Linked DNA regions of Homo sapiens: all the other regions are linked to region 1. The links are contacts of gene promoters, found by promoter capture Hi-C in blood cells and fetal thymus (Javierre and others, 2016). All regions are on one chromosome and are shown on one strand. Each heading gives the region's core, a stretch centred on a gene start or on the middle of the fragment in contact. The rest is flanking DNA. Distances are from core to core; before and after follow the strand shown.

Region 1 (4,290 bases), core at 383-2,882:
GCTATTGAAAAAATGGTGCCAATAGACTTGCTCGATGCAAAAATGCCACAAATCCTCAATTTGTAAAAGATGCAGGATCCACAAAGAGAGATGCACAATAAAATAAAGTATACCTGTGCATATTCCAATATTGTAAACACTGAATATTGATTTAAACAAAACTATAACCAATTTGGATAGAGGAGGAAGAGAGGAAGCATACTTCTGGAACATGCAGTGGGGAAGAAGAAAGCTAAATCTTCACCTTTTATGGTTGGGAGTCAGTAGATTATGCCTGAAACTGAAAAATCAAGAAGTACCAATCCAAGCATGTTATTTAGAGAACTGAGGTAAATGCCTAAAGAATGAGCACAGGTGAAAGTGCTTGCCTCTGAAGAGGAAGAAAGGGAGAGTGTGGGACTGCCGATTTTCGTAAGTTTTGAAAAACTGACTCTTTGAAAACTAGGTACATGATAACCTTGAATAAATTTCATAAATATAAATATGTTTCTATCTCTTCTATATCACTTCACTCACCAGTATTGAGTTTTCAGAGTAACTACTGTATATTAGTATCTAAAAGTTAATTTTCTGTCTTAAAGGCATTAATATGGATGCTAGACTAAATATACAGAAATTCCACTTTTCATAATAATAGCTACCATTACTATGGTCCCAGTATTGTACTAAGCACTTATATTATCTCCAGTCCCCAGAGCAACCATGCAAAGTAGGTACTGTTTCCATTTTACAGATAAGAAATTGATGCTCAAAGAGATTAAATAATTTGCTAGTATGTAGCAGAACTCTCTGATCTCAAAGCCTCTGTTCTTCCTTCCTCCTGGATCCCATCACCTCTTTCTAGAGTTTGCGTTTAAAAGAACTAGGGGCAGGGGGAGGGCAATGTAGCAGTTCAAATAACTCCTCCTTTGGAGGAAGGGCAAGGAAGCAGAAGAGAACCGCTGAAGGATTCAGCAATAGCACTAGGTAGCAGTCTCATGTAACCAAGTTTAACCCACAGTTGAAATTTCCAGTTGGTCATGTGAGCAACGGAAGCAATTTTTAAACTCTGGCCAGGAGCCCCAATGCTTACAAAAATAAAAGCTTTGTTCGGCTCTTATTTTGAAATAAAATAGATGTTCCAGCTGCTCCAACATGGGCCTAAACACTGCAGTGAGAATGCTCAGGACACAAAGTTTTGTGTCCAGAGAAGCCCAGTCATCATTACAAAATTGATCTCTAAAAGGGGTTGGGGGACAGACGGCATAGCTGCTTCCCAAGGAAATGAGTAGGAGGTGACCTGGGTCCTGACTGCCACACTGGCTGGGAGCTTGGACCAGATGATCCTGATGGGTTTCTTCTGAATAAAATTCCGGGTTGTGTTTATCTTGCAGTTTAAATCACTGGGAGCTTCGAGAGTTCTTTGGCTCCTTCCCTTTCTGGAATTATTGTGTGATATAATCAAGACATTTACCTGGCTCTTTAAATCAGTTGGTTTGCCGGCTACAGTGTAGGTAAAGAGTATGTCATAATGGACAATAAAAAGTTGTTTACATACCTCATTTCTGAAAAGTCATGGGCCACTGGCAAGTTAGGAAACGAAAGTGAAATCAGCTGATAGTGACATCAGTCAGAACAAATGTACCAAAGTTCAGAGAGCTGTTTACTAGGCACGACTGCGAAGGCAAGGGGGCACCAGCTCAGGACTGCATCTGCCTGCCATTTCCCTTCCACTCCTCCTTTCTGGAGTCTGACATTAGAAAGCCAGCGAGAAGGAAGATTCAAACAACCAACCCTGATTTCCTGCTTCTCCTTTTCATGAGTGTTCCTGTGGTCTCTGCACCTCCTTTCTGTAAGTACCGATCCTGCAAGCATCACAGCTTACCCAGACGTCTACTACCTTGTAAGACAATTTTGTTTTCTTCTCAGATATTTCATGTTCTGGCAATCCACATAGGGGAACTCACTGGTTGTTCAGTATCTGTGACCCTCCCTCGCTCATGTCTGTATAATCTACATAATCTACCCCCTTTACTCTCTGCTCTCCTTCCTTCCACTCTTCGGCATCAACATGTGTAGCTCTGGCCTCAAAGATGATGAAAGTAAGGCCAGTATAACTGGTTAGAAACGATGCAGGGCTGACTGCACACAGCAGAGTCTTGCACGCAGTGTGTACAAGGACATGGCTGTGGCTTGTGCAATACACTGTTCATCAGAAATAGGTAAACAAAAGCAGGTCACCGACCAACACTAACTAAACCACTATTCAATGGTAGTTACGAACACATCATAAAACTTTAAAATACACACTGAAGATTAATATCAACAGAAAAACTTGTGTTCTTGCCTCAAAGAATGGGACCTAAGAGATGTTTAGATCTTATGTTAGTCATTAGACCAGATTGCTCCTCATGCCCCAGTGGAAATCCATGGTGGTATTTTAGTTCTCTTGATGCATATTTTAAGAGATTTTTTTTAATGTGGGCTTAGTTTCACTAATAACTTCCACTATGCTTCTTCGCCTATAAAATCAAAGGCTCCTTTGAAAGAGGGAAAAGACACATATTTCCTTCTTCCCTCATGATAACTGAAGAGCATTTTTCAGTATCCACTTACCATACCCCATTCCCCAAAATCTCAGGTCTGAGACTCAGTCCATGAGATATTTTTTCAATCTTGCACATATTCCCCTTTCTCAACTTTCTTTCCAGCTTAGTCCCTGCTTTATCTAATTACTAAGGCTGTTTTGAATGCCTGTTTTATAAATTTCTTTTTTTTTCATAAATGTAGCACATAATTCTAAAAATATTTTACTGCAAATAGAGAACAATTGCCTGTAATGTCACCACCCAGAGCTACCACAGCTAACATTAACATTTTCAAATACTTCTTTAGTCTCTTTCTCCTATGCCTCTTTATATGGATGTAGTCACACTATGTAGAGTGATTTTATACCTGCTTTTTCTAAAAGATGCATAGTATTTTATCCTTGATACATCATAGTTTACTTCTGATATTGGACTTTCAAGCTGCTTCCCATTTTGTGCCAAAAGTAATGCTGTGCTGAACATTCCTATGTATAAATTATTGACTGGATTTCTGATTGCTGTCTTAGGATAGATTTATAAAAGTGGGCCAAAGAGATATGACTATTTTTAGGGTTTTTAATGTTTATTGCCAATCTGCCTCCCTGAAAGTTTGTACAAATGTTCACATCCACCATCATTGTGTGAGAATGCCAGTTTAACCATATTTTTGGTATCATCAAGTGTTTTTACCTACAGTGTTGATAGGGAAACTCTGGTTTTTTACTTGGCGTATCTTTAATTACATTAGAAAAGTTACAGAATTTTTTTTCATGTTAGTTAACTACTTTGCATTCTTTGTGAATTATCTCTTCATATTTGTCCATTTTTAATGAGGTGTAATGTTTTTTGACAGTTTGCGTAAACATTTTAAACATTAAGTACATTAATCATTTCATAGTTGTGGTAGATATTTTCCATGCTCATTGACTTTTAATTATATTTATGTTGTTTTTGGTGAATAGAAATCTTTATTTTAGAATAGTTAAACCTGTGCAATTCTTTATTTGTAGTTTCCATTTGCTCTTAAGTTCCAAATTTTATTTTTCACTCATAAATCAAATATATCCTTTTTTCCAGATCATTGATTTTTTTATCTGGTTTTACCTTTCACTCTTGGATCCATGTGAAATTTATTTGGGTATGTGGAGTGAGATGAGGACCTAAAATAGTTTTGTTTCTCTTTTCTAGTTAGCTGATCAATTGCTTCAGTATTAGTTAATGAAGAACCCTTTCAGGACTCAAAACAAATATCTCTTCTGAAGAGAGGCTTTCCCTGACCCTATAATCTAGTCATCACTTCCTCCTGCCAGTTTCTCTCTCTCACTCACCCTGTTTATTTCTTTCCCAAACCTTTTCAAAAATTATAATTACCTTTTAAAAAATACATTTGGTGTTTGCCTTCCCAACTAGAGTACAAGCTCAATGAGAGCAGGCACCTGGTTTGTCCTGTGTGGCACTGATTCCCCAGGGCCTCTGATTCAGGGAGTCATCCAAAATGTGTCACTAACAGAGTTACAAGATGAAATGCTGACCCCACGAGTCGAAGTGGGTGGCAAATTGCCTTTGTAATTGCGGAAGAGAGGGCTGGTGCGGGAAAACTAACCATTGACAGCCAAAGGCAGTCACCAGTTTCTGGTACTACTGATTCTCAAACTCTGAATCTTGTGAATCTTGGCCGCCCACAAACTGGACCGTGGAGTCCTGCCAACAGAAACCAAATGAG
Region 2 (3,983 bases), core at 72-2,571, 510 kb after region 1:
GTTAGTGTTTAAAACATACTGTGTGGTATAATAGGCTTAAAATAAATTCTTTAAAAGAGAAAGAGAGAAAAAAACACACACATACACAGACCGGAAGACTGACAGAACAGACTCTTTGTGGCGATGATACAAATTGTCAACAGGACCTATGGCCATCCCAGGCAAGAAACCCAGCTAGGCCAGTGAAACTGAGAGCCAACCTGATGAGGCCTGCCAAATGCAACTTCTCTCACTTGTTTTTAGTCACCTGCTTTTAGTGGATTAAAAAACCCACATAGCTAAAGTCACAGAGCTAAACAATATATATCTAAGCTCCCACTATCTTCCTTATGGATAACATCTCTGACATCTGGGTTGCTTGATAAAGGTTTCTTGTTTTTCAGGAAGTTGGGGTCAGTTCTTGTACAGTTTAAACCACCAACCTCTCAACTGGGCCTGCATGAAAGCCCGATGGGTGTCCTTCTGACATTAGAGGGCCAAAACCTCCACACTCAGATCATGCTAAGGATGTCATTTTGTGACCATGTATCCTATAAAGAGCCATGAAGCTTGACTACCTCGCGCAGATAACCCATTGCCAAACTTTTCCTTACCTTCAACCGCCTTTCCCCACACCTCAGACCACCCTGCTCCTCTATCCCATAAATATCCCTAAAACCCATCTTTGGGGAGGCAGATTTGAGATCTGTTCTCCCGTCTCCTCGGCTGGCTGCCTGGTGAATAAACCTTTTCTCTGCTACAAAACTCATCATCTCAGTGACTGGCGTGCGGCACACGGCAGCATGGGCCCCATACGGTACCCAGCCTCTACCTTGATTACACAACACCTGATTACACAACGCTGATTACACAGCACACCTGCGGAGCTTTGAGAGCTACAAGCCTCCTTTCCTCCCCGCAAAGTCCAGCTGGGCCCAAGTAGAGGATGCTGCAAAAGCCCCCACGATTCAGCTGCGAACCTAGGGATGGGACCCGCTGCTCATGCCGTCCTTCTAGGTTAGAGAGCCCTAAACTGGGCTGTGTATCAGAATAGTCCGCGTGCTGAGAATAATATAGATTCCTGGGCCTCGGCCCAGGTTTACAGAGGCGGGATGCTCAAGGATGCCCAGCCAGGCTCGGGACTTGCTCTTCGCAAGTCCTGTCGCGCGCTCGCTGCCCCGCCGGTTCAGGCGGTGAGGCCAACGCGCTCCGCCAGGGGGAACCTGGGCGCTGCGACACTGCAAGTCGTTTCCGGGCGCGGGCTGAGTGGGAGGAGCGGGGCGGGGCGTGGCGTGACCCGGAAGTCGACGAGGGGTTCCGCCCCCCCCGCGCATGGGGAGGTAGGCTCGGACCGGCCCGCGGAGCTGCTGCAGTCCTTCGCGCCCTCCTCGCCCTCCCCACCGACATCATGCTCCAGTTCCTGGTGAGTGGAGCTGCCGAAGAGCGGGGCCCGCTGCCTGGGGCGTGCCTCGGACCCCATTTCCCCCTTGAGGATTGCCGACCCCGCCGACCCGGCCTGGGCGTGGGTCCAGCGGTCCCTTCGTCCCCCGCGCCTGGTCGTCGCCTCGCAGGGCGGCCGTTTTCTTCCTGCCTCCCCAGAAAATCCCTTTGCCAATATTTTTCTGCAGCCATCCAAGTCCCTAAAACTTTGAGGTGTCAGAGAGTGTGCGTTTCCAGAGCTTCTTATTGTGTGCCGCGCCCCGCGCTCATTGTGCAATCTTTGTATTAAAGCTTGTGTGGTCCTTGATGACTTTTCGTAGTCCGCCCCCCTTTCTTTCTGCGCTCCTGTTCCATTACATGGTCGCCGGCCGGTCCCTGCTGTGGAGCCCTGCTAGTTGGCTTTTCTGAGGAGGTAGGAAGGCCAGGAATAAACCGTAAATTAGCCACCTCACGAAGTCCGAGAGGCTAAGTCCTCATCAGACCTTTCAGAGTTGGAGGAATGAGTCAGACACTGGTATACAAGTAATTTTTCCCAAAATGTGTAAGCATGAGTAAGCAGACTATTTCTCTTGGCTCCTTATTTGAGTTAAAAACGAGTTTTCTGGCAAAACTCGGTATATTTCAAAAATTGCTTGGTGAAGGTTCCAGGAGTTGCTCATCAAATTTTCAAGTGAAAGTTTTTCTGCCAAGCTATTGTGCATTCAAAACTTGATGCTTTCAACCTCTATTTTTTTTTATTTTTTATTTTTTTTGAGACGGAGTCTCGCTGTGTCGTCAGGCTGGAGTGCAGTGGCGCAATCTGGGCTCACTGGAACCTCCGCCTCCCGGGTTCAACCGATTCTCCCTCCTCGGCCTCCGGAGTAGCTGGGATTACAGGCGCGCACCAGGATGCTCAGCTAATTTTTGTATTTTTAGTAGAGACGGGTTTCACCAAGTTGGCCAGGCTGGTCTCGAACTCCTGACCTCAAGTGATCAACCCACCTCAGCCTACGAAAGTGCTGGGATTACAGGCGTGAGCCACTGCTCCCGGCTCAAATGCTGTATCTTTTTTTGTTGTTTGTTTTAACGGAGTCCCGCTCTGTCGCCAGGCTGGAGTGCAGTAGTGCGATCTCGGCTCACTGCAGCCTCCGCTTCCTGGGTTTAAGCGATTCTCCTGCCTCAGCCTCCCGAGTAGCTGGTGCGCGCCAGCAGGCCCAGTTAATTTTTGTATTTTTAGTAGAGACGGGGTTTCACCCCGTTGGCCGGGATGGTCTCGATCTCCTGACCTCGGGATCTGCCTGCCTCAGCCTCCCAAAGTGCTGGGATTACAGGCGTGAGCCTCCGCGCCCGGCCCCAAATGCTGTATCTTTATCAAAGAGATTAAAACACAAAATGCACCCCTTTTGTCCTTTTGAAAGATGGTAATGGATTGTTAAATCCAATTAGTCAAAAGAGTGTCCTTAATCTGCCCAGCTAAGACAGGGCTGCTCCTTTGCCTCTAGGAGTTTCTGTAGTGTCCTAACTAGATGTTAGTTTAGGAGTTCAGAATAATGACAGTCATTTTCTTGTAGTAAACACTAGATTAAAAGCGGTATCACTTAGCTCCAGAGTATAGAATGATGTAATTGAGCTGCTTACTATATCTGTTGCTCATTGATAAACTGAGAGGACATGATTCAATTACAGTTAACTTTCTAAGTGGTTTTGCAGAATGAGTCTATTTGGTTTTGCAATAAACTTTTACTGTGTGTTAATTTTTTTTTTTTTTTTTTTTTTTTGAGACAAGGTTTCTCTTTGTCACCTAGGCTAGAGTCCAGTGGCACAATCATGGCTCAGTGCAGTCTTTAATTCCTGGCCTCAAGCAGCCTTCCCACCTCAGCCTCTTTAGTAGTAGCTAGGACTACAGGCCCGCACTACCACCCGTGACTAATTTTAAAATTTTTTTTTTGTAGAGACAGGTCTTGCCTAGGCCTCCCACAGTGTTGGGATTACAGGCATGAGCCACCACTGTGCCTGGTCAGATTCTGATTTGAGAATTCAGAATTCTCAGTATTTAAGGAGAGATGCTAAAGCTGTCAATTATATTCCTAGCTCAGAAGTAACTGAACACTGATGTTCTCTCACCCTCTGGTCTTCCACCTCATTGCTTTTTTTTTTAAATAAGTGGATAGCATTACTTTTCACATTGATTCCACCTCTGTCAAATGAGCCACTGACTCTAAAGTTGAGCAAGTATTTCTCTTTGTGTGCAGTCATTTCATCTATTAAAAAATGACCATCATGTTCTAGTGTTTAAGAGATTAAACTTCAGAGTCAGACTTCTCAGTTTGAACTCTGCCTCCCATCATTTTCAAGCTGTGGTAGCGTGGGTGGGCTATTGAAATTTTCTGTGCTCCCATTTCCACATCTGAAAATGCAAACCCACCTCACAGTTTTGTTGTGAGGATTAAAAATGAGTTAACACATTAAAGAACTTAAAAACAGGAGCACTCAACAAGGATTCAGATAGTGTTCAGTTTTTCTTTTGCAGGGTTCATTTGAACCCTGATTGAGTTTCTTCTCAAGTGGGGATTAGCTTCTCTCAG
Region 3 (3,854 bases), core at 262-2,761, 690 kb before region 1:
GTTACCAGAGCCTGTTAGCATGGAGCTCACTCTCCACCTCAGAGGGAGCAGCGAGGCAGGGTGGGGATGCTCATCGAAGGTGTGGGTTAAGAGGGGACGACCCTCAGAGGACCTGGCGACCTCTTATTTGACTGGAGGACCTCAGAAGCTGCTCTTGCAGCCTTCCCCACTCTGCACGGTTGAAGGAACAGAGAATCTCAATTTCCAGAAAGAATGCCTTACCACAGGCCCTGAGTGGTGTCCGGGCACAACCACCACTGATGACAGCAGGGAGAGCAGAGGACATCCCTACCCCAGAAAGAACAACTGGGGCCCAGGCAGGAAACTGCCCAGGACACACTGAACTTTCTCCAGGCTTGATGGCGCCTTGATTGATTTTTCTCTGAGGAGCTGCTGAGGGCACACTCCGCAGGCTCAGCCTAGCCACGCACTGCCTGCCATGCAACTGGTGCGGGGACAGGAACATGACTCAATCCAGGCCATAAGACTCAATCTTTGCACTTGAATTGGAACCCCTGAGTCCAGCCCCGGTTCTGCTGGGGTCACTGAGCTGGGAGAATGTCAGCCTGGAGCTGCTGCAGGAAAGTGGAGGGAGGCCAAATCCTGGTGACAACATTTACAACCCTGAATCTCAAACACCTAATGTCAGCGGCTGTTGTTTGGGGAAGTCAATCAATCCCCACCCCAAACACACTTTTTTTTTTCCTGCTTAAGATTAAAGTGGTTTTTCAGTTCTTTGGAACCAAAAGAGCACAGACTAGGATAATCAAGCTTGCGTTGGCACGACATGAAAAAAAAGTTGTGAGAGGTTTTTCTAGAAAAGTAAAAGACAGCAATGACTGCAAGAGGTCACGAAGAAGCTGCTGATCATTCCTTGGATATGTGCCATTCGCTGGAGACATGTGTGCTGGGAGGCTGATCAAAGGTGCTGGAGGGAAAAAGTCACCTCTGCAATGAAAATGTACGAGGATCCACAACCACATTCTATGTTAATGATCTCAATGTACAGCCCTTCCCTGAGAGAAACTAATTTGCCTTATGAAAAATGAAGCAGCCAACTTAAGCTATGGTGAGAAACCATTCACTAAACTTGGGAATGCCAACACAGGATGACAACATCTCCCCATTCCATGTCAACAAAGAGAAAATGCAAACAGAAGGAGGGGTCCAGATTGACTTCTAAAAAGAAGGTAAACTATGAAAACATGCTGGGTGGCATCCAGGCACAGCCATTACTGATGAGAGCTGTAGAAATGCAGTATATGAAACACTCCAATTACAGCTCAATCATACAAATCCTACATGTTTCTAACCCGATCCTGCCACTAATCTGTGTGCCCTTGATGGGCAAAACCATGCATGCCCATTCCTCCCAGAACTTCTGGCTCTGCAAAGCTCTACGTTGGGCAGTGACTTGAAATGCTCTGGGCTGATGGCACCAAGTGATGGCAGTGAGAAGCCTCTGCCCTTGAGTCCTCCACCACCTCCTTCAAGACAGCGGTCCTAGTTCCTCCTTTGATAACACCGGCTGGCTAATACCAACTCTGAGACACTGATAACTAAAATCAGTGTCTCCCTCCTACACAGATACAACACTCCTTTTAAAACCTAGTCTTCTTCCCTTTTGCTTACAGGTCTTGCTAGTTACTTCAAGATACCCCTCCCTCTCTTCCCTCTGCAAGTCAAAAAGCAAGCCACAGTGCTAAACAGGAAGACGGTCACAGGACAGTGTTTATGGTAAAACCAAAGTATCTCAGAGATTGGATATTTTGCAATATTAACCACGGGGATCTCTGGGAACAGGGAACTCTTCATTTTTGAAATGTTCTCTAGTTAGCAGGTGTTACTACTGAAATCAAAGGATAAGGGGAGGGGGCAAAGGAAACTTCACTTTGGGTAAAGAAACGGTCCTGAGTAGGAAGCATGAGAATGCTGTGCTGATAATCCTGGAGCAAGGAACAGGAAACGATCACTCAGAATCAGGTTTGGCAGCAGAAATTAACTTCCTCCTGTTCTGTTTTAATCAATTTGTCCCAAATTCTAAGACACTGCTGTTTCCAACTAGTTGAGATGTGCATGGACCAGGACTGACCCTGTAGGGGCAGGGCTTATTTAAATGTCTTTGGTCTTGAAGAGGAAGAGATGGGGGCTTTAGAGACACCAGGGAAGTGAACAGTAAATCTGGCTCCTGTGTTACCTCCATGCCCACAGCGCCTCAACCCTCACCCCATCCAAGGATCTTGGGCCATCACAAGCTTACCCCACTTGGGGAAGGTGGAGCAAGTCTTTCCTGGCACATTTTCTTTTACCTCATGCATTCTTAAAGTGGGTGCTATTGTCCCCAAAGAGACAAAAATTAGTTCTCTGGGGCAAAAAAACCCCCCTCAGCTTATAGAACAGCTTGTGACCCTCTAGAAGGCTACTGGCCATAAGCAGAAGTACAATATTATCTCTGATATTACAATTTTATTTTGGGGCAAATTAGGGGAAAAAAAAGTCTCACAAGGCTCCTAGGTGGGAGGGAGGTAGTGATCATGGCAAAAGATGGAGAAACATAGTTGTACCTTCAGCCCTAGGAGTATTCTGTGAGCATACATAGGAGACTTACAATGACTTTTACCTCCAACAATTTTTCAACTAGATTAAAAACACTATCAGTAACAAGACACTGGTGGGCACCAGACATCATCTCTGTTTTAAAAGCTTCCTGGCTTTACAATGCTGTGATGGGTTTTTGTTGTTGTTGTTGTTTCTGAGACCGAGTTTTTTTTTGCTCTTGTCGCCTAGGCTGGAGTGCAGTGGCACAATCTCAGATCATGGCAACCTCTACCTTCTGGATTCAAGTGATTCTCCTGCCTCAGCCTCCCAAGCAGCTGGGATTACAGGCACCCACCACCATGCCGGGCTAATTTTTGTATTTTTAGTAGAGAGGGGGTTTCACCATGTTGGCCAGCTGGTCTCGAACTCCTGACCTCAGGTGATCCACCCGCCTTGGCCTTCCAAAGTGCTGGGATTACAGGTGTAATTGTTTACTATCCAATGTAGAAGGCAAGACTGCCAGAAAGAAACCCTGTCCAAGCCACATGGGTCTGGGGCAGAGATGGTCTCCCCATCTGCCTGAAACCCTCACCTGAGAAGAGAATGGAGTTTGAGGACCTTCAAGAGTAGAGACTACCAGAGCCCTGCTGAGGGTCTGAAAGGTACAACACAGCCGCTACGGCATGGGAAGACCCAGGAGAATAAGGAACTGCACCTGCCTGCAGGGCCTCCTCCAGCTGTCACAAAGACAGGCAAAGGATCACATCTTCTGTCGAGCATCTGTGAAAGAATACATACACACATACAAGGGAAAGGTTTTTTTGTTTGGTTGTTTTTTTAGATGGAGTCTTGCTCCATCGCCCAGGCTGGAGTGCAGTGGCGGGACCTCGGCTCACTGCAACCTCCACATCTGGGGTTCAAGCGATTTTCCTGCCTCAGCCTCCCAAGTAGCTGGGACTACAGGTGCGTGCCACGATGCCGGGCTAATTTTTTGTATTTTTAGTAGAGACGGGGTTTCACCATGTTAGCCAGGACGGTCTCTATCTTCTGACCTCATGATCTGCCCGCCTCTGCCTCCCAAAGTGCTGGGGTTACAGGTGTGAGCCACCGCGCCCGGCCCCAGGGAAAGGTTTTAAGTCATTAAAAAAAAAAAGGAAGTTGATTCCAAGTCCATCCTTATACCATTACTTTGACCCACCATTCCCCGCTGCCCCCACCGTACAATTCTACACCAACCTGATCTCCTCATCCACAGGAATACAAGTGGGCGTTTTCACCATACAGCTATCTCTAAAGTCGTTTTACTTCTTCATATG
Region 4 (3,906 bases), core at 92-2,591, 790 kb after region 1:
CATTGAAACAGCTTTACAGAGTTCAAGCTCTTCATCATTCCATAGAAGCATGCTGGTGTCCTCACTCAGAAATTTTTATTTCAAACACAGACCTTCTCAGTCAAAATTAAATCAGAAACAGAAAACAGAAAGGAGAGAAGGCCTACTGAAGACGGTCACACTAACAACAGTAACATCTGACAAGAGCTTGACATGACTATAGTAAGAAAGAAACCAAGACTGAGCCCGGCTAAAGCTTAGCTAGTGTAAGGACAATTAACCAAAACTTCAACAGACCCCCGAGGGTTGGATGCTGGTAAGGCTTCAAGGAAATCATCATGTCTTGTTACTCTGCTTAAGAGAAAAGTATATAATACCCTTAAGAAATTTTCTATCCAAAATAGTTATTTTTTACCCTTATAAAGGCTTTTTTTCCCCCCACAGTACTTGTTACTACCTGAAATTAAGTTACATTTATTGGTATACCTGTTTACTCTGCCTTCCCTCTAGAAAATGAGGTGTTACTCTGCCTTCCCTCTAGAAAATGAGGTGTCCAAGAGCGGAGGATCTGTTTACCTTGTTAACTCCTATATCCCCAGTATTTAAATGAATACAGTGTGTACTTCCTTTTGATATTAAATGTCTCATGAAGACTTCGAAAAACGTAAAGCATCAAAGACATTCTTTATTCTTTCCCTGGAACCACCCAATTACCTCTCATTCAATTGTTAGATTCTCTGTGAAGCCTGCTGGGATTTCCCAGGCAGCTGGTGCCCTGGAGATCACAGGTCAGTACTGTAGCTCACTCAGCATCTGACACAACCCACTTCCAACCCGTTCTTCTTTGCTTTCCTCTACTACAGAGGTTGAAAATAAGTGAAATCCTCAGACTCCCTTAAAGCTACAGGTGACTATCTGACCTAATTTTGGCCTTAGCTCTTTCCCCCCTCTTCCTGTTGTCAACAGACACAATGCCTGGCGGTTCAGTAGTTATCTTGTGACCATAAGGATTGGGGAAAATGGGGGCGGGGGGGGGGGGCGGGTGCGTGGGGCGGGTGCCCAGTGTGGGATATCAACAACATACACAGCGGAGCCAGTCACTTAGCCTTGGACTGCACATCTTCAGACTTTCTCGTTTAGATCATTGTAGTAAGGGTTTTTGTTACTCATGGCTAAACTCCACCTTTCTTAGGGAACTTACCACAGTCTGTAATTAACCATTAACAGGTATGTCTTCCCCAAATTAGGCTGAGCTCCATGAAGGAAGGGGTCCTGTTATATTTGTCCCTATAGCTTTAATACCTAGGATAATGCCTTGTAGCCAGCAGATGCTCAATAAATATTAAATGAAAAAAATTCACATCTGGGTCATAGTAACAGAAATATTACCCTTAGTGAACACAAGCATCCAAATTAAAAGGAAAAATTATTTTTTTAAAAATACTATCTTGTCTAAGTATGTACTACTGTATCATTAGAAAGAATACTGTCAATTATTTTGAATCAATTTATATGCATTTTAGAACAGTCTTGAGAAACTACTATACTCACAAAGAACTCCATTATCTCATGATTTGAGGCAACTGTTTGTAGTTCCATGGTACTATGAGAAAATGTTCAGAATCTGAAAACCTTACACTGTTTAAATATATACTTAAATATTACCATAGAACTTAAACATATGATTCAATTTCGGAAACTACTAAAAATGGATTTGGTATTTAGTGACATTAAAAATTATTCAAATACCTACAATTATACATACTTTGCAATTTTATCTACTGGTGCAGGATGATTTCATAGCACATTTAATTTCATATTTAATTTACATATTGATACAGGAGACAGAGTAAAGACAATTTCTGGTCTTTACTAGACCTATAAGGTCTAACATAATACAAAACACAGTGATTGTTACCTCCCTTACATTTTTCGTAGCAGTTTTGAGTTTTTAATGTAACAGTAAAAATATGTAACCACATGTTTCTCACAGCAGTCCCCTGAAGTGGACATTGTTAACTCCATTTTGTAGACAGGCTCTCAAGCTCAGTTAAGAAACTTGCCCAAGGTCAGTCAACAAATACGAAAACTAGAACCATCTGACTCCAAATTTTGTATTCTATACCACATTTAGTTGAAAATTACCCATGGCCTCTCCCCCCAAAATGTTAGGGACAAGACTAGATTTTGGAATTTATTACCTTTAGATATCTGCAGCTTATTTGTATCTTACAGAAAATAAAAGAACTGTGGGATGGCACACATATGACTTGTCATCTGTTGCACACTCTGACACCACAGCATCTTTTCATAGACACTCAATTCACAAGTCCATTCTGTGAATCTTTACTGAGTTTCTATTAAGTGGCAGATACAGCTTTGGTAAATAAAATGTTACTGGAACATACCTAGGCTCATTCATTTACATGTTGCTTATGGCTGCTTTTGCATCACAGTGGCAGAGATGAGAAGCTTTAATGGAGACCATAAGGCACAGAAAGCCCCAAATGTTTACTACCTGGCCCTTAACAGAAAATGTTTACTACCTGGCCCTTAATAGAAAATGTTTGTTGCCCACTGTTCTAGGGCATTAGGGAGAATCAGAGACTAGTTCTCATATATTTCATAAATAGTGTGGCAAGTACTAAAAATAGGAAAGACCATTACCTTCTTTGATTCTCAGAATAATCCTGGGGTATGAATACTATTAAACCCACTGAGTTCAGATGTCAAGTGATTTACTAGCTATGAAGTTACAGAACCAGGCCTTAAATCTAGGTTTACTAACTTCATTGCCAAGCTCCTCTATCTGCACCACTCTGCTTCTCCAACAATGGGGAATGTCATATGAACCAAAGCATTTGTTGAGAACTTTAATTTACCAAGTGGGTTAAGTGTTGATGCTGTTGTCTCATCTCTTTAACTTTTCCAAAAATTCAATTCTTAAAATGTCAATTAAAATCTAAAGAGGCAGGTACTTCAAGTTTTCCAAGCAGCTGCTCAAACTTACTCAAATGACAAAAACTAACAAATGAGACTCACACACATGTGAGCAATGAGACATTTTATGTTTCGTTTTATTCCTTATTTGAACACAGTTAACTATAGTTCATTTTCAGTTGCATATATAATGGTCTTGGATTTGTTCTTATGGTACCCCTAGTAAAAATATGATTTTAATATCACTATAGCAATCATATTTAACATGAATAGAAAGATCATTTCAAGGTTTCAGAGAAAAATTCATCATGGAAATAGGATGGGCTAAAGCACAAACGAGCCTTCAAATTACTCCTCTTCAAGGACAGTCACATATTGAGCTGTTATATTACTTTTTTTTTTTTTTTTTTGAGACGGGAGTTTCATTTTTGTTGCCCAGGCTGGAGTGCAATGGCATGATCTCAGCTCACTACAAACTCCACCTCCCGGGTTCAAGCTATTCTCCTGCCTCAGCCTCCTGAGTAGCTGAGATAACAGGCACCTGCCACCACGCCCGGCTAATTTTTTTTTTGCATTTTTAGTAGAGATGGGGTTTAACCATGTTGGCCAGGCTGGTCTCGAACTCCTGACCTCAGGTGATCCGCCCGCCTCGGCCTCCCAAAGTGCTGGGATTACAGGCGTGAGCTACTGTGCCCGGCCGCTGTTATATTACTTAAAAGGTGGTACATCCTAAGTTTCAGACAAAAAAGTATGTCCACACTTGAAAGAAAGTTCTTCTCATAAAGTTAATTTTCTTCAGGGAACCCTCATTCCTACAGCAAGTCTTTCCTTTCCTGAGAAGCACATCAATCCTAAAGTCTTTGTACTTGCTGAGAACTCATGATGTGCTCGGCATTTCAGCGAGTGGCTTATACACATTATCTCACTTGAGTACTTGGCTATACTGAGAGGCAGTATAATGTAATGGTTACAGACACAGGCTCTAGA
Region 5 (3,861 bases), core at 1,312-3,811, 520 kb before region 1:
ATATTTTCCTCCCCTTCTTAAGATAGGAAAGAATTGGTGGATACTAAGCTTGGTGAAATCTGTTGGAATCTTCAACTTTAACCCCTTCCAAATTGAGGGGCTCAAATAAACCTTAGTTAAAGCACAAATTAGTTACTAATTAGGGAGCTCCTGTACAGATAAGGGAGTATTAGTTTTGGACCATTTGGCCACTTTTTTGGATATCCAGATTGTAGAATTACCAACAGGCATACTCATTGGTGTGTACTGAGTCTCAGACAGGATTCAGAATGAGAGTAATTCTTTTGGGATCTGAACCTTGCAGGAAAATAAAAATAGACAAAGCTTGATTAGGGTCTCAAAGTCTGGCAATACCAGTTTAACCATGAACAGATAATGAAATCTTCATAATAACATTTGATTGGTATCTAAAACCCCAAAATGCCTCTATTTCTAGGGCAATACTATCTCTACATTTTAAAAAAGTTTCTGGATGCCAAGATATTTAGCTTGATTTTATTTATTTATTTTTTATTTCAACAGGTTTTTGGAAAACAGGTGGTATTTGATTACATGGATAAGTTATTTAGTGATGATTTCTGAGATTTTTGTACACCCATCACCTGAGTAGTGTACACTGTAAAGTCACTCTTGTTCACTTACGAAGAATGAGAAGAAAAACTCTGAAACAAAAATTCTCCTGCCTTTAATTGAACAAACTGTAGCCCACTCTAGAATGACTTTTCTGTAGCTGGCCCACTGTGGTAGAGTACTTTCAAAAATATTCACTCCTTCCCCCTTTTACCTCCACAAGGGAAATATCCTTCCCCAAATCCTTGACTTTGGGTTTGGCTGCATGGCTTGCCTTGGCAGATGTGACAGAAATAGGGGGTTGAAATGTGCTTGAGTGGTTGGGCCTGGCCTCTTGCACCCCTATCATTGCAACGAGAAGAGTGTGTCTTGACTAGTCATTGCAACGAGAAGAGTGTGTCTTGACTAGTCACTGGTCCAAGGCACATGAAGAAGATGAAGCAGAGCCACCCAGCTGACCTGCAGCTCTGTGAGATTAAATGATTGCTATTTTAAGATACCGAGTTTTGGGGTGGTTTGTGACACAGAATTTTTGTGGCAATAGCTGATACACATCCCAATAGCTCCACAAACGGTCATTATCTTCCCAAGTTCTGTTTCTGTCCCCAGAAAATATCATTCTTGACCGAAAAAATGCAAATATAATATTTTCCTATGGGCTTCTAACTCAAACGGCATAGGGTGTTTCAGAAAAATGTTCCTATTTAATTAGTTCAGTTTGTTTTTATTCCTGACATCATGCTTCCCTCTAAGTACTGTGAGTGCACAGAGGGAAATGTGAGTCTGTGTGCTCAGGTACTTTTTAAATTTCAGGCTTAGGGGAGTCTATGATCCCTAAGTCTGACACTGTCTCATGAACTGTGAAGAACTTGAAGACAGGAGGCTCTATCAGCCTCTCAGCAAGAGAGACAGCACACTCAGCTTTGTTGTGTAGAGGCTTTTTCATAAAGGAAATATTTAGAGGTGTGGTTCGGGTTAGAGGAACTAGCAAGGGATGTTGAGGTGCCCAGACACTAGGAATAGCAGGGAGTTCTGATGATCCCCAGGCCTGAACAGTAGGGGGAGAAAACGCAATTTTTGGAGACTGGCTAAGAGTTAGAGTCAAGATGGGCTGCCCAACGGTAGCTATAGTTTGAGTGATGAGGCCATTGATAGAACCACGGTGAAGCAGATGGTGAGTGGGAATAAATGGTGAGGAGAGATATATTGAAAATAAATATTCCAACATCTTCTCCTCCCACTGACCAGAGGGCAAGGGAACCTCGGTAACACAGTACCTAGAGGTCAGGTTCCCAGGACAAAGAACATAACAGAACACAGAATAAATCTGCAACGAATCAAAGAACAACCACAACAGATGTTTATGAATACTTGCCCCAGTTTTCTCAGGAAAGAAGGCATGGGGAAAGGGAGGGCAAGAAATGAGTTGCGTTTACAAGGAAATTGGTTACAGAGAGTTTACAAAGTCTTCAATTTTGAATTGAGTAGCAAAAAGATGGAAAATTAGATGACCTGTGACTGGGCCAGTAGATGTCTTTGCATTGCATATATCAACCTCAAGCACTTCTCTAAAAGTATCATGAGACAAAACTGTAGCACTAGACGGCATCAGTGAAATTAACCTTAAAGTACCTGGAAGATAAGTATTTTGAGGAGGGCTATCAGATCAAGCTTCTGGTCTTAATCTCTGGGTTTGACATTGGGATTTTAGAAGAAATATTTAAATGGATAGCGAAGTAAAAGGTATATGGATGCCAGGAGATTCCTGAGCTATAGAACTCTGACACTATTTCAATTTTTTGATAATCTTCTGATTCTTCACCTATGAAAATATTATATGAAACTACTTACCAAATTTATCAACCCATGACACATCCACAAACCCAAACTTGCCAGAATACTTTCATTGTCGTGTTAATGTGTTTGAAGGAGAGTGTGGAGGGCGGGGAACACAGGAGACTCCTTGGTCTACATGTCCATACATGCATATCCACATACCAGCATCAGCCATCTCTCTTTCTCCAGCAAAATTACTCTTGCTTTCCATTTCTGTTGTCCAAAATGGGCAAAGGTGAGTGAGTAAAACCAAAACACCAATACACTGAGGATGTCTTTTATTATACACAGAAGTATCCTACTATGCTAGAAAACAATATTATACTAATTTTCTTAGAGAAACAAAGTAGCTGACTATTCATCTGATTCAAATATATGTGAGACACACTTTTTTATCCTTCAGATACAATTTTCACATCGTACTTTCTCTTTAGATTTTATAGTTGGCCCAGTTTCCCCTTGAATGCGAGCCTTATAAGCTTTTTGTACCTCTTAACATCAAACTCAATGAATAACTAAGACTTGGGCTATTTGTATTGCCCAAATGGGAAATGGGGGAGGGTGAAGGAAGAGAATCCTCCCCTCTCCATTCGAAGGTTCCAGGGGGCTACAAAGAGATAATGGTTGATGTTGATTCTAGAAAACTGGTTCTCATGAAGTTTTCAAGCTGATTTCCTTATGTATTAACTTCACTAAAAGAAGGATTCCTTTTGATAAGTGAGGACAAAAAGGCATCATTGAATACCAATTACAAAAAGAAAAAAAATCTACAAGTACAATATTTTGCTTCAAATAAAATATATTTATGTGGTTGCTATGTTTTTGTTGATAGTCAATATATGTAAATATTTAGCTAAATTATGAAAATTCAAGAAAGATCACAGCTATTGGAAGTAGCAGGCTAGCTAAAAGCCTCTGCAGCATTGCTTGAACAGAAACAGACCAAAGGCAGATTATGTCTGAAGATGTGTTGATTATATCTCCTTAAAGAAATAATAAGTTCTTTAAAAGGGCAATATAAGCAACATTCATGTACTTATGAGAAATGTGTAACTAAATACTTCATTGCTTAACTAAACATTTATTGGATGCCTATCGGTGATTAGAATGAATGATTGGGGGTTCCAGTTAATTAACTACCTGAATTTGTCTTCCTATATATAATTTTCCAGGAAGAAAATAATATAACAAAAAGGAAATGGTTACAAAGTAACAAACATTTTATTTCCCAGTCTAATCTTTTTCAACCTATATTTATACCCAGAGGACTGCGTGGTATGTTCAGCATCATGTATCTTGGCTTCTGTCAAGATGAATATTTTGTATTGATCAACGCTTTACACTTTACAAAGCCCTTTCAAATACTTATTTCCTTTGACTTCTAAGTCTTACTGCACCATTGTGTAGATGGAAAAATTGAGTCTGAAGTGGTGATTTCCCCAATGTTATTCTACT

The links. Contacts are between HindIII fragments. The CHiCAGO score rates a contact against its expected background, and 5 or more counts as called.
Region 2: the fragment with the promoter of STMP1 here is called in contact with the fragment with the promoter of TMEM140 in region 1 in 9 of 17 cell types (non-activated CD4 T cells, total CD8 T cells, naive CD4 T cells and 6 more); the score reaches 7.9 in non-activated CD4 T cells.
Region 3: a contact is called between a fragment that was not itself captured here and the fragment with the promoter of TMEM140 in region 1, in 2 of 17 cell types (naive CD8 T cells and total CD8 T cells). The highest score is 7.0, in naive CD8 T cells.
Region 4: a fragment that was not itself captured here is called in contact with the fragment with the promoter of TMEM140 in region 1 in 1 of 17 cell types (erythroblasts); the score reaches 5.4 in erythroblasts.
Region 5: a fragment that was not itself captured here is called in contact with the fragment with the promoter of TMEM140 in region 1 in 1 of 17 cell types (total CD8 T cells); the score reaches 6.2 in total CD8 T cells.

Annotation. Positions count from the first base shown.
Region 1 is chr7:135,146,440-135,150,729 of GRCh38, forward strand. It overlaps TMEM140 (transmembrane protein 140), which reads left to right and starts at 1,633. Exons shown (of 2, transcript NM_018295.5): 1 at 1,633-1,831. It also overlaps a transcript of CYREN not described here. RefSeq lists an enhancer at 1,412-1,911. The HindIII fragment of the contact is 6,449 bases long and covers 1,082-4,290 here.
Region 2 is chr7:135,661,193-135,665,175 of GRCh38, forward strand. It overlaps STMP1 (short transmembrane mitochondrial protein 1), which reads left to right and starts at 1,322. Exons shown (of 3, transcript NM_001130929.2): 1 at 1,322-1,402. The coding sequence starts at 1,388. RefSeq lists silencers at 1,197-1,416, 3,889-3,983 and enhancers at 2,056-2,580, 2,581-3,105. The HindIII fragment of the contact is 1,162 bases long and covers 547-1,708 here.
Region 3 is chr7:134,452,842-134,456,695 of GRCh38, forward strand. The region is part of intron 1 of AKR1B1 (aldo-keto reductase family 1 member B); the gene reads right to left. Among named protein-coding and RNA genes, the nearest start is that of AKR1B1, 4.3 kb to the right of the region's middle. The HindIII fragment of the contact is 1,484 bases long and covers 770-2,253 here.
Region 4 is chr7:135,938,571-135,942,476 of GRCh38, forward strand. The region is part of intron 3 of MTPN (myotrophin); the gene reads right to left. Among named protein-coding and RNA genes, the nearest start is that of MTPN, 37 kb to the right of the region's middle. The HindIII fragment of the contact is 2,216 bases long and covers 234-2,449 here.
Region 5 is chr7:134,620,877-134,624,737 of GRCh38, forward strand. The region is part of intron 1 of LOC124901750 (a long non-coding RNA gene); the gene reads right to left. Among named protein-coding and RNA genes, the nearest start is that of BPGM, 24 kb to the right of the region's middle. The HindIII fragment of the contact is 644 bases long and covers 2,240-2,883 here.